Regions from separate parts of the Homo sapiens genome. Here region 2 is linked to region 1. Evidence: promoter capture Hi-C in human tissues and cell types (Jung and others, 2019). All regions are on one chromosome and are shown on one strand. The core of a region is centred on a gene start or on the middle of the fragment in contact, and the rest is flanking DNA. Distances in the headings are between cores, read along the strand shown.

Region 1 (6,962 bases), core at 1,596-4,095:
TAAGGATGAAATGTCATCATGGACAGAGAGCATTTTGCATAGAGATCAATAATACATATTTGAAAAATCCCCAACATTTAGAAACAAAACAATACACTTCCTAATAACCCTTGGATCCGGGAGGAAATTAAGAGTGGAGACAATCTTGAGCTGAATGAAAATGAAAACACAGCACATTGAAATGTGCAGGATTCAGCTAAAGTGGTAATTACAGGGAGAATTATAGCAATAAAATGCCTATTTATAAAGGAAAAGAGATCTTAAATCAATGATTTCATCTTTCACCTTAAAAAACTAGGAAAAGGCCAGGCGCGATGGCTCACGCCCATAGTCCCAGCACTTTGGGAGGGCGAGACAGGTGGATCACGAGGTCAGGAGATCAAGACCATCCTGGCTAACACAGTGAAACCCTGTCTCTACTAAAAATACAAAAAATTAGCCAGGCATGGTGGTGGGCACCTGTAGTCCCAGCTACTTGGGAGGCTGAGGCAGGAGAATGGCATGAACCCGGGAGGTGGAGGTTACAGTGAGCCAAGATCGCACCACTGCATTCCAGCCTGGGTGACAGAGCGAGACTCCACCTCAAAAAACAAAACAAAACAAAAACTAGAAAAAGGGGCCGGGTGCATTGGCTCACGTGTAGAATCTCAACACTTTGGGAGACCAAGACAGGTGGATCACTTGAGGTCAGGAGTTTGGGACCAGCCTAGCCAACATGGTGAAACCCCATCTCTACTAAAAATACAAAAATTAGCTGGGCGTGGTGGCACATGCCTGTAATTCCAGCTACTTGGGAGGCTGAAGTGACAGAATCACTTGAACCTGGGAGGTGGAAGTTGCAGTGAGCTGAGATGGCACCACTGAACTCCAGCCTGGGTGTTCTCTATCTCAAAAAAAAAAAAGAACTAGAGAAAGGGCGGGGAGCAGTGGCTCATGCCTGTAATCCCAGCACTTTGGGAGGACAGGGCGGGGAGCAGTGGCTCATGCCTGTAATCCCAGCACTTTGGGAAGACAAGGCGGGTGGCTCACTTGAGCCCAGGAGTTCCAGACCAGCCTGGGCAAATGAGGCAAAAACCCATCTCTACAAAAAATATTATCTGGGTGTGGTGGCACATGCCTGTAGTTCCAGCTACTCGGGAGGCTGAGGTGGGAGGATCACCTGAGCCCAGGAGGTAGAGTCTGCAGTGAGGCTTGATTATGCTACTGCACTCCACCTTGGGTGACAGAATGAGACACTATCTCAATTTTTAAAAAATGAAGAAACTAGAAAAAGGGAACACATTGAACCAAATTAAGTGGAAAGAAGGATCTAACAAAAATGAGAGCAGAAATTAATGAAATAGGGCCATGCACGGTGGCTCATGCCTGTAATCCCAGCACTTTGGGAGGCTGAAGTGGGCGGATCACCTGAGGTCGGGAGTTCAAGACTGGCCTGACCAACATGGAGAAACCCCGTCTCTACTAAAAATACAAAATTAGCCAGGTGTGGTGGTGCATACCTGTAATCCCAGCTACTCGGGAGGCTGAGAGAGGAGAATCGCTTAAACCCAGGAGGCAGAGGTTGCAGTGAGCCGATATCTCACCACTGCACTCCAGCCTGGGCAACAGAGCAGAGACTCCGTCTCAAAAAAAAAAAAAAAAGAAAGAAAAAAAAGAGGGTGGGGTCTTCCGCATTTCCTTTTTTCTCTTTTTTTTTTTTGAGACAGAGTTTCACTCTTGTCACCCGTCACCCAGGCTGGAGTGCAATGGCGGGATCTCAGCTCACTGCAACCTCCACCTCTCAGGTTCAAGTGGTTCTCCTGTCTCAGACTCGCGAGTAGCTGGGATTACAGGCGCCCACCACCAAGCCTGGCTAATTTTTTTGTATTTTTAGTGGAGACGGGGTTTCGCCATGTTGGCCAGGCTGGTCTCGAACTCCTCACCTTACGTGATCCGCCTGCCTTGGCCTCCCAAAGTGCTGGGATTACAAGCGTGAGCCACTACGCCTGGTTACGCATTTCTTTTTAGGCTCATTCCTGGGTATGTCACCGGCCCTATGGCGATTGTGAACAGCACCTGCAGATATTTGAGGGCGTGCGCAGCCAGGGTTCCCGCTCTGGGCAGGGGGCACAGCGAGGTGACTCACGGGTAACCACAGGTGGCCACGAATGACTGCTAGAAAGTGGGAATTTTAGGGGAACAGAAAACGGAGAATAGCGGGGCGCACGGGGAGGCTCTGGAACCTGGGCGAGCGGAGCGGCGGACGCCGCAAATGCGGAGGGCGGGGCAGGGTGGCCCCTGGCGGGTGTCTCCACCTCTGCGGCCAGGCCCCCCAGCGCAGCTGCCCTGGCCCCGCCCACCACTCCCAGAGCCCGGGGTTGGGTCCCAGGTCGCCCTCAGGAGCCAAGGCCCCGCCCACCACGCTCGGCCCCCTCGCCTCAAGCCCCGCCCACAGTTCGGGTCCAGACCCAGGCTCCGCCCCCTTCCCCCGCCCACAGCTCCAGTTCCCTTCGCAGGCCGTCTCTCCACGGGAGGCCCCGCCCCCCACCCTCAGCCCCGCATCCGGCTGAGTCCTCACCCCAGGCCTCGCTCGCCGCTGGAGACCGCGCTCACTATCCGAGGAGGACCCTCCTCTGCCCCGCGTCCAGCTTTAGTCCCCGACTGCGTTCATCGCCAAGGGCCCGCCCACTGCCTTAGGTCGCGTCGCCAGCCTTGGGTCCCGTCGCCAGCCTTGGGTCCCGTCCCCGGCTGCACTCACCGCGAGGCCCCACCCTTAGCTCTAGTCCCCGGTGTCGCCCACCGACGAGGCCCCGCCCCAAACTCCAGTCCCGGGCTGCGCTCACCGCCGTGGCCCCGCCCCCAAGCGCCAGTCCTCGGCTGCGCTCACCGGTAGGCCCCGCTCGGGTTCCGCCGAAGCCCAGCCCCCGCAGGTCGCCCCTCCGACGCCGGCGCGCCGCAAGGGAGGCCAGCTCGCTCGCAGTGGGGAGGTCGCGGCTCCAGTCCTCGCGTCCCCGCCGTGGTCCCGGTGCCTGTCCCATCCCGCGGGCGCGGCCGTTGCGGGCGGCGCGGCCCGGGCGCGCGCGGCGAATCTGCGGCTGCGAATCGGCTGGAGCGGGGCCTCGCGAGAGCGGCGAGGCCTGGGCGGCTGGGCCTGGGCGGGCGGCGCGGGCTGCTCCGGAGGCTCGGGTGGCTTGAGAGTCTTGGGAGGCTCCGGGCGCTGCCCGCGCGGTCGCCGGCATGACGGGCCGCGTGTGCCGCGGTTGCGGCGGCACGGACATCGAGCTGGACGCGGCGCGCGGGGACGCGGTGTGCACCGCCTGCGGCTCAGTGCTGGAGGACAACATCATCGTGTCCGAGGTGCAGTTCGTGGAGAGCAGCGGCGGCGGCTCCTCGGCCGTGGGCCAGTTCGTGTCCCTGGACGGTGAGTCCCGCGGGCTGGCGCTGCGCGGATTTCTCGGTGCGGCTTAGGCGGGCTGGAGGCGGTGACGGCGCGGCCGGGACCAGCGCCTCGGTACCGCACGCTCTGTCGGGGCGCGCGGTTCTGCGCCGTCTGGGCGCGAGTGTGGATCCCCTTGGCGAGAATGTAGACCTTCTTCGCGCGCCTGTGGACCCCCGTGGCGTGCGTGGACTTCCTCGACACACGCGTGGGCCAGGGCAGCCAGCACAGGGAGGGTTGAAGAGAGCCTGGGGAGCCCAGAAGGCCCCTCAAGCTGCCCCTCACTGTCACTCTCTGTGCCTGCAGTTTTGTTTTCAGCAATGTCTGGTACTTAGAATCCGATTGCTGCTGCCCTTGGCCTTGGTGGTTACCGGGCGGATGCCCTAGGGCCACTCAGGCTGCTGCAGGCCTCGGAGGGGACGTTTCAGTGATGGGCAGTATTGCGGGCTGGGGATGGACCCCAGCCTGTGGAAGGAGCTGGACTGTGGCCAGTTTCAGGTGGTTGTGAATAGAGCTGCTAAAAGGATTCATTTGCAGCTCTCTGTGTGAACATACGTTTTCATTTCTCTGGGGAACTTAGCTGTATGTGTAACTCTATGGGAAACTGTCATGAACTGTTTTGTGATGTGGCTGTGCCATTATGCATTCTCACCAGTTGCCCCACATCTTCACCAGCACTTGGTGTTGTCGATGTTTTTATTTCGGTTGTTCTAACAGGTGTGTGGCATCTCATCATAGTGGTATTCTGTATTTCTCTACTGGCTAGTGATGTTCAACCTTATTAGGGTGCTTATTTGCCATGCCCGAATCCTCTTTGTTGAAATGTGTGCTCAAGTCTTATTTTTTTATTTATCTCGAGACAGGATCTCACTCTGTGGCCCAGGCTGGTGTGCAATGGCCCAGTCATGGCTCTCTGCAGCCTTGAACTCCTAGGCTCAGGCAATTCTCCTGCCTCAACCTCCTGAGTAGCTGAGACTACAGGTGCATGCCACCATGCTGTGATCATTTATTTTATTTTATTTTTAGTAGAGACAAGGTCTCTATGTTGCCCAGGCTGGTCTCAAACTCCTGGGCTCAAGTGATACTCCAGCCTTGGCCTCCCGAATTGCTGGGATTACAGCGTGAGCCACCACACCCTGACTCTCATTTTTTATTTGGGTTGTTTTCTTATTGTTGAGTTTTGGGAGTTCTTTGTGGATTGTAGTTACAAGCCCTTTGTTGTATATGTGATTTTCAAAGCAGAAGTTTTTTTTCTTTTGAGATGGAGTCTTGCTCTGTTGCCCAGGCTGGAGTGCAGTGGCTCGATCTCGGCTCACTGCAAGCTCTGCCTCCCAGGCTCACGCCATTCTCCTGCCTCAGCCTCCCGAGTAGCTGGGACTACAGGAGCCCACTACCATGCCCGGCTAATTTTTTTTGTATTTTTTAGTGGAGACGGGGTTTCACTGTGATAGCCAGGATGGTCTCGATCTCCTGACCTCGTGATCCGCCTACCTCGGCCTCCCAAAGTGCTGGGATTACAGGCGTGAGCCACTGCGCACGGCCTCAAAGCAGAAGTTTTAACTTTTTTTTTTTTTTTGAGACAGAATCTTGCTCTGTGGCCCAGGCTGGAGTGCAGTGGCACAATCTCGTTTCACTGCAACCTCTGCCTCCCAGGTTCAAGTGATTCTCGTGCCTCAGCCTCCCAAGTACCTGGGATTACAGGCGTGCGCCACCTCACTTGGCTAATTTTTGTATTTTTAGTAGAGACAGGGTTTCACCCTGTTCGTCAGGCTGGTCTTGAACACCTGACCTCAAGTGATCCGCCTGCCTCAGCCTCCCAAAGTGCTGGGATTACAGGCGCGAGCCACCGCACCTGGCCTAAATCTGTGGTCCATCTATGTTTTGTATAAGGTGTGCTTTGTAGGCTGAGGCTCATTGTTTATCTGGAGGTCCCCTTGTTTCAACACCGTTTGTTGAAAGACTGAAGGCCTTTGCTCCCTCGGCTGTGCTCACTGGGCCCCGTCCGTGCAGGTCTGTCTCTGGGCCTTGTGTCCTGCCCTGTTGATCAGGTGCCGTTTTCCTTTGTCAGCATCACACGCTTTTTTACTATACCTGTTATATTGTCCTGAAATCAGATATTGTGAGTCCCTCAACCTTTGTTCTTCCTTTTCAAAGTTGTTGTGGCTATTAATTTCCCTTTCTCTTTTTAATTTTAGAGTAAGTTTGTGCATCTCTGCAGGTCACATATTCTTACCTGAAATGCTTGGGACCAGAAGTGTTTTGGATACCAGAGTTTTCTGATTTTGGAATATCTGCATTATAATTACTGGTTAAGCATCCCTAATCGAAAAATCTGAAATCTGAGATGCTCCAGTGAGCATTTCCTTTGAGCATCGTGTTGATACTCAAAAAGTTTCATGTTTTGGAGCATTTATTTTTTATTTTATTTTTTTCTTGAGACGGAGTCTCGCTTTGCTGCCCATGCTGGAGTGCAGTGGCACTATCTCGGCTCACTGCAAGCTCCGCCTCCTGGCTTCACGCCATTCTCCTGCCTCAGCCTCCCAAGTAGCTGGGACTACAGGCGACCGCCACCACGCCCGGCTAATTTTTTGTATTTTTAGTAGAGACGGGGTTTCACCGTGTTAGCCGGGATGGTTTCGATCTCCTGACCTCGTGATCCACCTGCCTCAGCCTCCCAAAGTGCTGGGTTTACCAGCGTGAGCCACTGCACCGGGCCGTTTTGGAGCATTTATAATCTCAGATTTTTGGATTTGGGATGTTCAACCTGTACAAAAGTCCTGGTGGGGTTTTCATTGGAATTGCATTAAACCTCTTGATATATTTAGGGAGAGCTGACATTTTTTCTTTCTTTCTCTTTTTTTGAGACAGAGTCTCACCCTGTCACCCACGCTGAAGTGCAGTGGCGCGATCTGAGCTCACTGCACCCTCCGCCTCCCGAGTTCAAGTGATTCTGCTGCCTCAGCCTTCTGAGTAGCTGGGACTGCAGGCACACGCCACCACACCCAGCTAATTTTTGTATATTTTTTAGTAGAGACGGGGTTTCACCACATTGGCCAGGCTGGTCTCGAACTCCTGACCTCGTGATCCGCCCTCTTCGGCCTCCCAAAGTGCTGGGATTACAGGTGGGAGCCACTGTGCCCAGCTGACATTTTTTCTATGTTGAATCTTGTAGTCCATGGAACACAGTGTATGTTTGCATTCATTTAGATTTTCTTTGATATAGTCTGTCAGTGTTGGGTAGTTTTCAGCATACAGCTTCTGGACTTTTTTTTTGAGATGGAGTCTCGCTCTGTCACTCAGGCTGGAGTGCAGTGGTGCAACCTCGGCTCACTGCAACCTCTGCCTCTTGGGTTCAAGCGATTCTCGTGCCTCAGCCTCCCAAGTAGCTGTGATTACAGGAGCCCACCACCACGCCTGGCTAATTTTTGTATTTTTAGTAGAGACAGGGTTTCACCATGTTGGCCAGGCTGGTCTCGAACTCCTGACCTCAAGTGATCCCCCCCCACTTCAGCCTCTCAAAGTGCTGGAATTATAGGCATGAGCTGCC
Region 2 (6,962 bases), core at 1,180-3,679, 1.2 Mb before region 1:
CAGGAGTCATCCCAACATTGGTAAATTGGCGATTTGTTTTTACTATTTAGTGACTGACATATTTCACTTAACCTGAAGCTTCATGAACACATTGATGAAAAGTAGATAGAAGACTTGTTTGGAAATGCCAGATTTAGGGTAGACTTTACCACCCACGTGTGTCTGGAGATCTCCTTAGGATTCCAAGAACAGGGTGGTTTTTTTCCACCACAGGACAAGGATGAGAACCTCCAAGCTGTGATGATAAAGGACAGGCAGGGCCATGTGTGGACAAGGATGGGCTGCTGCCACGTCCAGAGTGTTCTCTCCTAGCAACGCCGCCATCTCCTTCCTCACACTGTGGTATTTGTCAGATGGGAAACATGCCTAGAATTTATCTTTGACATATGGATGGAAGCCCAGGCTAGAGGCATTTGACAGCTTATTTCTGAACCTACTTCTTTAAGGAATGCCCAGATCCCTTGCTCTGCTTCCTGGTTCTTAACCCCTTTAGCTCCCTTCCGCTCCTGCACCCATGCACTGCCTCTTTACGGCCACTTCCCCACACCCTTCACTGTAGCACCATTTTCTTGGGCTCCTTGGAAATATCACAGCTTTGGTTTAACTCACAGATCAGGCACACTCATGGGCCCCTCCAGAGGTTCTCGATTTCCCTCCCTCAGGCTCCTCCCTGGGGTCCTAACTTGGCCATCTCTATCCTCTCTTCTCAGCCTGGCCATCCACAATCCATCCCATCTGGACTTGTGTATAGCACTGGGTTAACTCAGCAGGTATGAATTGTTCAAACCCTGCACATTCCTAAAAAATAACTAAAAAAAAAAAAAAACTTTTGTTCATTTATTGCTGTTACCTACTGTGATGAGATCTCCGAGTCCATAAAATATTGCACCTGATAACAGTGTCTGTGGATGTCTGTAGCCTTGGGACATGCGGTACAAGTTTAATCAGTGATTTATAGTGAATGTCTACTTTTGTTTTGCTGGAGAGGGCTGTCGTCTGAGTATTGTGGTCAGTTCCCCAGGTGTTCCATAGTCTATGATTCATTCCCCAAACACAGCCCTGGACAAGAGAGCTCAGCGGCACTCCCCTTGTTGTCAACACTTCACACAAGCCATCTTACCTCACAGCTGAACAATTACACATGTGTAGAAGGCTCCACTGTGAGAGGACACCTGAGAGCTTGTGCCTGGATTCTCCAGGGCTTCACTCCTTGTGCCTTTTGTCTTTACTTATTTTAAATTGTATCATTTTTCTGTAATAAACTGTTCCTGTGAATAGAACAGTTATGAGTCCTATGTTTTTACTGATTTTTCAGCCTACAGGTGGCAGATGAGAACTCTCAACACAGTTGTGTTAGAAGAAGGATTTCCTAGAGAGACCCTGACTCAATGATGATACATGGCTGAAGCATTGCATGGAAAACGTAAGTGTTCAGGTATGGAATGGCAAAATTTGATACCTGGGGAGTGACAGAATACTACAGTCTATTACAGCAGCTGAGCTGAAATCGGTTTCTGGAGGTAAATGGGATTTAGAAATTATAAATCCAACTCCCAAGGAGCTGGCTCAATCAATACATAATGAAATGTGAAATGATTAGAAATAGCCTACATATGCAATTTCCATCTGTGAGAACTAAGTGAAAATCCAGGAGAGAGTTGGCAGGGAGAGGGATACTGCACCAACCTCAGATTTTGACCATTTTCATTTAGGGCTGATGGGCTCATGACCACTAGAGTTAGCAATTACACTGTGATAAAAGATAAAAGCTTCACAAACTCTACCCACCCAGAAGGGGGCTCAGGTGGTGAAATAGGGAGGGTAAGGCATGAAACGACTGAAATATGGGAGGATAGTGAGATGGGTTCTCTCTTTTTGAGTTTTATCTTTTGCTTCTTTACTAATTTTTGTTAATCTGGATTTGGAGAATGACTAGTGTAAAAGTGGATTCTGTTTTGAGTCCCTTAGAATGGAGGAGAATGTGTGGGCCAATGTTGTGCCCAGAGACTACTACAGAACAATAGTAGATGAATGTACATGACCCAAACACAAAGCTTTGTGGTTGCTGATGGGAGAGCTGCACTGCCCTGGCCTACTGGATAACAGCTTCTCCAAAGTGTATTTACCCTGACAATGGAGATTGCCTTTCTCTTTTAAGTGAAAAAAATGGAACACTACAATAAAGTAGTGGTAATGCTGTGTGTGTATGTATAAGACATTCTGGAGTGGGTTTGTGATAATTGGGATATGTATCACTTATCCTTTTATTTGTATAAATTTATGGGGTGAAAGTGCCGTTTTGTTACATGGATATATTGTTGAGGGATAAAATCTGGGCTTTGAGTATAGCCATCATCTGGATGGTGTATATTGTACCCATTAAGTAACTTCTCATCCCACATGCCACTCCCACCCTCCCAACCTTCCAAGTCTCCAATATTTCTTATTCCACACTCTGTATCCATGTGTACATATTATTTAGCTCTCACTTATATATGACATGTGGTATTCAACTTTATTCTTCTGAGTTCTTTAACTTAAGATAGTGGCCTACAGTTTCATCCATGCTACTGGAAAATACATAATTTCATTCCTTGTCTATTATTGAGTAGTAATTAAATGTGTATATGTACATACACATGTATAGTGTGTGTATGTGTGGGGATGTGTGTGTACATATATGTATATGTATGAACATATACGACTGTTTCCTTTATCTAATCATTTACTAATAGAAACTTAGTTTGGTACCATGTATTTGCTATTGTGAATAGAGCAGCAATAAACATATAAATGCAGGCATCTATCTGATATAATAATTTATCTTCCCTTGGGTAGATACCCAGTAGTGGGACTGCTGAATGAAATATTAGTTCCAATATTAATTATTTGCAAAATCTCCATACTGTTTTCCATAGAGCTTATAGTAATTTACATTTCCACTAGCAGTGTATAAGCACTCCTGCTTCTCTGCATCCTTACTAGCATCTGTTTTTTGTTTTGTTCCATTTTTCTTTTTGACTGTTTTAATAGTAGCTTTTCTGACTGGTATAAGATGGTATCTCACTGTGTCTTTAAATTGCATTTTTCTGATGATTAATGTCATTGATTATTTTTTCATATGCTGGTTGATGATTTTTTTGTCTTTTGAAAAATAAACATTGTAGTAATTTGCTCATTTTTAATGTGGTTATTTGTGGGTTTTTGTGTTGCTTTTGTTTCTTGTAGTTTGTAAATATTAGCTCTTTGTCAGATACAGAGTTTAAAAATAGTTTATCCCATTCTGTACGCTTTCGGTTAAGTTTTTTGATTATTTGTTTTGCTGTTCAGATGCTTTGCTTCTTATTTGTATTAAGTCCAAATGGTCTATTTCGGTTTTTATTGTTTACTTTTAAGGTTGTAGTCATGAATTCTTTGCCTAGGACAATCTCCAGAACAATATTTCCTAGAATAGCATCTGCAACTTTCAGACTCTCAGGTCTCCCAGTTAAGTCTTTTATCCATATTGGCTTAATTTTGGATATAGTGAGAGATACGGGTCCAGTTTTATTCTGCTGCAAATGGCTGTTCAGTTTTTCCTGCACAATTTATATAACAAGGTGACCTGTTCCCAGTGTATGCTTCTTGTCTAGTTTTTCACAGTCAGTTTGGCTGCAGGCATTTGACTTTATTTATGAAATGTCTATTCTGTTCCACTCATCTATGGCTTTCTGCTAGATTGTTACTTGATTGTTACTTGTGTATAATAATGCTACTGGTTTTTGTATGCTTTTTTCATTTATTCTAAAACTTTACTGAATTAACTCATCAATTCTAGGAGTATTTTGAAAGAATATTAGTTTTTTTAAGTACAAAATCATATTATCAGCAAACACAAAGAGTTTGACTTCCTCTTTTCCAATTTGAGTGCCTTTATTTCTTTCTCTTGCCTAATTTCTCTGGCTAGGATTTCAAGTTCCATATTGATTAAGAGTGGTGAAAGTGGGCATCCTTGACGTGTTCTGAGTCTTAGGAGGAATACTTTCAACATATTCCTATTCAGTATAATGTTGTTTCGGAGTTTGAAGGTGATTTATGGAGAATGAGAGATGTTGAGTGCGAGTGGACATGAGTGAGAGAAACAGTAGATATGTGTGGCCGTTTCTGACCAGGGTGTCTCTGTGTTTGCAGGCGTCCAGCGTGAGGCGCAGCTGGTGGAGTCTGGGGGAGGCTTGGTACAGCCTGGGTGGGTCCCCGAGACTCTCATTTGCAGCTTCTAGATTCACCTTCAGTGACTTCTGAATGCACTGGATCCGCCAGGCTTCTGGGAAAGGGCTGGAGTGGGTTGGCCGTATTAGAACCAAACGTAACAGTTACACGACAGAATGCGCTGCATCTGTGAAAGGCAGGTTCACCATCTCAAGAGATGATTCAAAGAACACACTGTATCTGCAAGTGAATACCCTGAAAACCGAGTACACGGCCATCTATTACTGTACTAGAGACAGTGAGGGGGAGGTTAACGTAGGCCCATACACAAATCTCCCTGCAGGGGCGCGCAGGGCCAACTGGGGGCGCTCGGGACCCACTGAGGATGGGACAGGTCCCAGGGGCGGGTGCAGGGGGAGGTTTCCTTTCTCAGCTGCAGGAGGCGGGTTTGTTTTTGCAGGAATATGGAGTCTTATGAGGTTTTGATATTTTACTATGGTTATTTATCATGATTTTTTAAAATTGGGATTTGTGTTTTAGTAATTTTTAAATTTATATGTAGGGGTATTTTTAAAAATTAAGTTTTAGGGTACATGTGCACAACGTGCAGGTTTGTTACATATGTATACATGTGCCATGTTGGTGTGCTGCACCCATTAACTCGTCACTTAACATTAGGTATATCTCCTAATGCTATCCCTCCCCCCTCCCCCCACCTCACAACAGGCCCCGGTGTGTGTTCCCCTTCCTGTGTCCATGTGTTCTCATTGTTCAATTCCCACCTATGAGTGAGAGCATGCGGTGTTTAGTTTTTTGTGATTGCAATAGTTTGCTGAGAATGATGGTTTCCAGCTTCATCCATGTCCCTACAAAGGACATGAACTTATCATTTTTTATGGCTGCATAGTATTCCATGGTGTATATGTGCCACATTTTCTTAGTCCAGTCTATCATTGTTGGACATTTGGGTTGGTTCCAAGTTTTTGCTATTGTGAATAGTGCCACAATAAACATATGTGTGCATGTGTCTTTATAGCAGCATGATTTATAATCCTTTGGGTATATACCCAGTAATGGGATTGCTGGGTCAAATGGTTATTTCTAGTTCAAGATCCCTGTGGAATCGCCACACTGACTTCCACAATGGTTGAACTAGTTTATAGTCCCACCAACAGTGTAAAAGTGTTCCCTATTTCTCCACATCCTCTCCAGCACCTGTTGTTTCCTGACCTTTTAATGATTGCCATTCTAACTGGTGTGAGATGGTATCTCATTGTGGTTTTGATTTGCATTTCTCTGTACCCTAAAACTTAAAGAATAAAAAAAATCCTTCAAAAATAATTCTTCCTAATAATATGCACTTATTCTCCTAGGTTGTATTAACATCTGTTGATATCTTCAACTACATAGCTATGGCGACATTAATTTACATCTGTAGACATATGTGTAAATACACAAACTTATGCATACATGTCTAGTCTTTTATATTTAATATAATAAAATCATTATAAAATATGTCCTAATGAATGAAACTTAATGATTAACTAAATATAAATTATAGTAATCCATTATTCATTGCAATGATTCTCTATAGTTTACATAAATTGGTATCTATTTGTAAGCTTAAATATAGTGTATTGGTCATTTTAAAATGGCCAAGAACAAATTTCAAATGTCCCTGTCACACAAACACACACAATAAGGATTTGAGGATTTGAGTTGATATATATGTCAATTAGCTAGATTCAGTTATTCCATATTGCATTCATAAATCATAACATAGCTTTGCACTCTATAAATACATAGTCAAAATTTCTCAATTTTCAATGAAATTTTAATTATACATTTTTTAATCCGTCCTAGGTCATGATTTTTTTCTCCCTGTCAGGATATGATTAGATTGTCCTGAGAAACTCATTCAGCCTCCTGCCTCCTGAAGGCTTCAAAGGCTTCAGGAAGTAAGCTCCTGGATGGGCAGAAGCAGGCAAATCTTTCATGTGCACAGGACCTGGAGCATCTCTCTTTGGATTAAGCCCCCTCCTCAGGATTACAGGGCTCTTCATTTTTCTCAACAGGCTGTTGTACCAGATAAGCACAAAAACTTAATTTCATTATGCTTTGCTTTTTTTAAAAAAAAAAAATGAAGGTAATAATTTTAACAATAAACATATTACAACCTGCTACACATGAGACCCTTCTTGTGCTTCGACCTTTCTTCTCAGGAGTTTATATGTATTACATATATTCAGTTTTTTTCTGAGTTGGAATGCTTATTACAGATTATTCCCCTTATTACAGATTACTCTTTTAATTTATCTCTTAGAATGATTTTTCGAGAGCCCCTGCCTGCCCGCGCCTGGTGGAATGGAGCGGCGCCTGGGCTGAGCCAGGCGCGCAGGGGCCTCCGCACGTGCCGCGCCGGTAGCAGACGCCAAGCGGGCGGACAGTGAGCGTGAGAGGCCGGGTCGGAGTGGCCGCCGGAGCAGTGCCGGGGATGGAAGAACAGCCCATCTTCACCACCGGAGCACAGGTCTTCCAGATTGACCCCAACACCAAAAAGCACTGGATGCCTGCGAGCAACAGGCGGTCACCGTTTCTTACTTCTATGATGTCACAAGGAACATCTATGGGATCGTCAGTGTGGACGGAGCCAAGGTGACCATAAACAGCACAATCACACCGAATATGACCTTCACCAATGTGTCACAGACGTCTGGGCAGTGGGCCGACAGCAGAGCCAACACGGTGTTTGGTTTGGGGTTTTCCTCTGAGCA

Evidence for each region. Contacts are between HindIII fragments. The study calls those that stand out against the background at their distance.
Region 2: a fragment that was not itself captured here is called in contact with the fragment with the promoter of BRF1 in region 1 in 1 of the 25 tissues and cell types used here (lymphoblastoid cells).

What each region holds. Positions count from the first base shown.
Region 1 is chr14:105,296,884-105,303,845 of GRCh38, reverse strand. BRF1 (BRF1 general transcription factor IIIB subunit) reads left to right here and starts at 2,845. Exons shown (of 18, transcript NM_001519.4): 1 at 2,845-3,400. The coding sequence starts at 3,217. It also overlaps the pseudogene LOC124903409 and a transcript of PACS2 not described here. RefSeq lists silencers at 2,164-2,533, 2,764-3,173 and an enhancer at 4,024-4,103. The HindIII fragment of the contact is 16,575 bases long and covers 1-6,962 here.
Region 2 is chr14:106,460,776-106,467,737 of GRCh38, reverse strand. It overlaps IGH, the pseudogene HOMER2P1 and the pseudogene IGHV3-42. Among named protein-coding and RNA genes, the nearest start is that of LINC00221, 18 kb to the left of the region's middle. The HindIII fragment of the contact is 3,007 bases long and covers 926-3,932 here.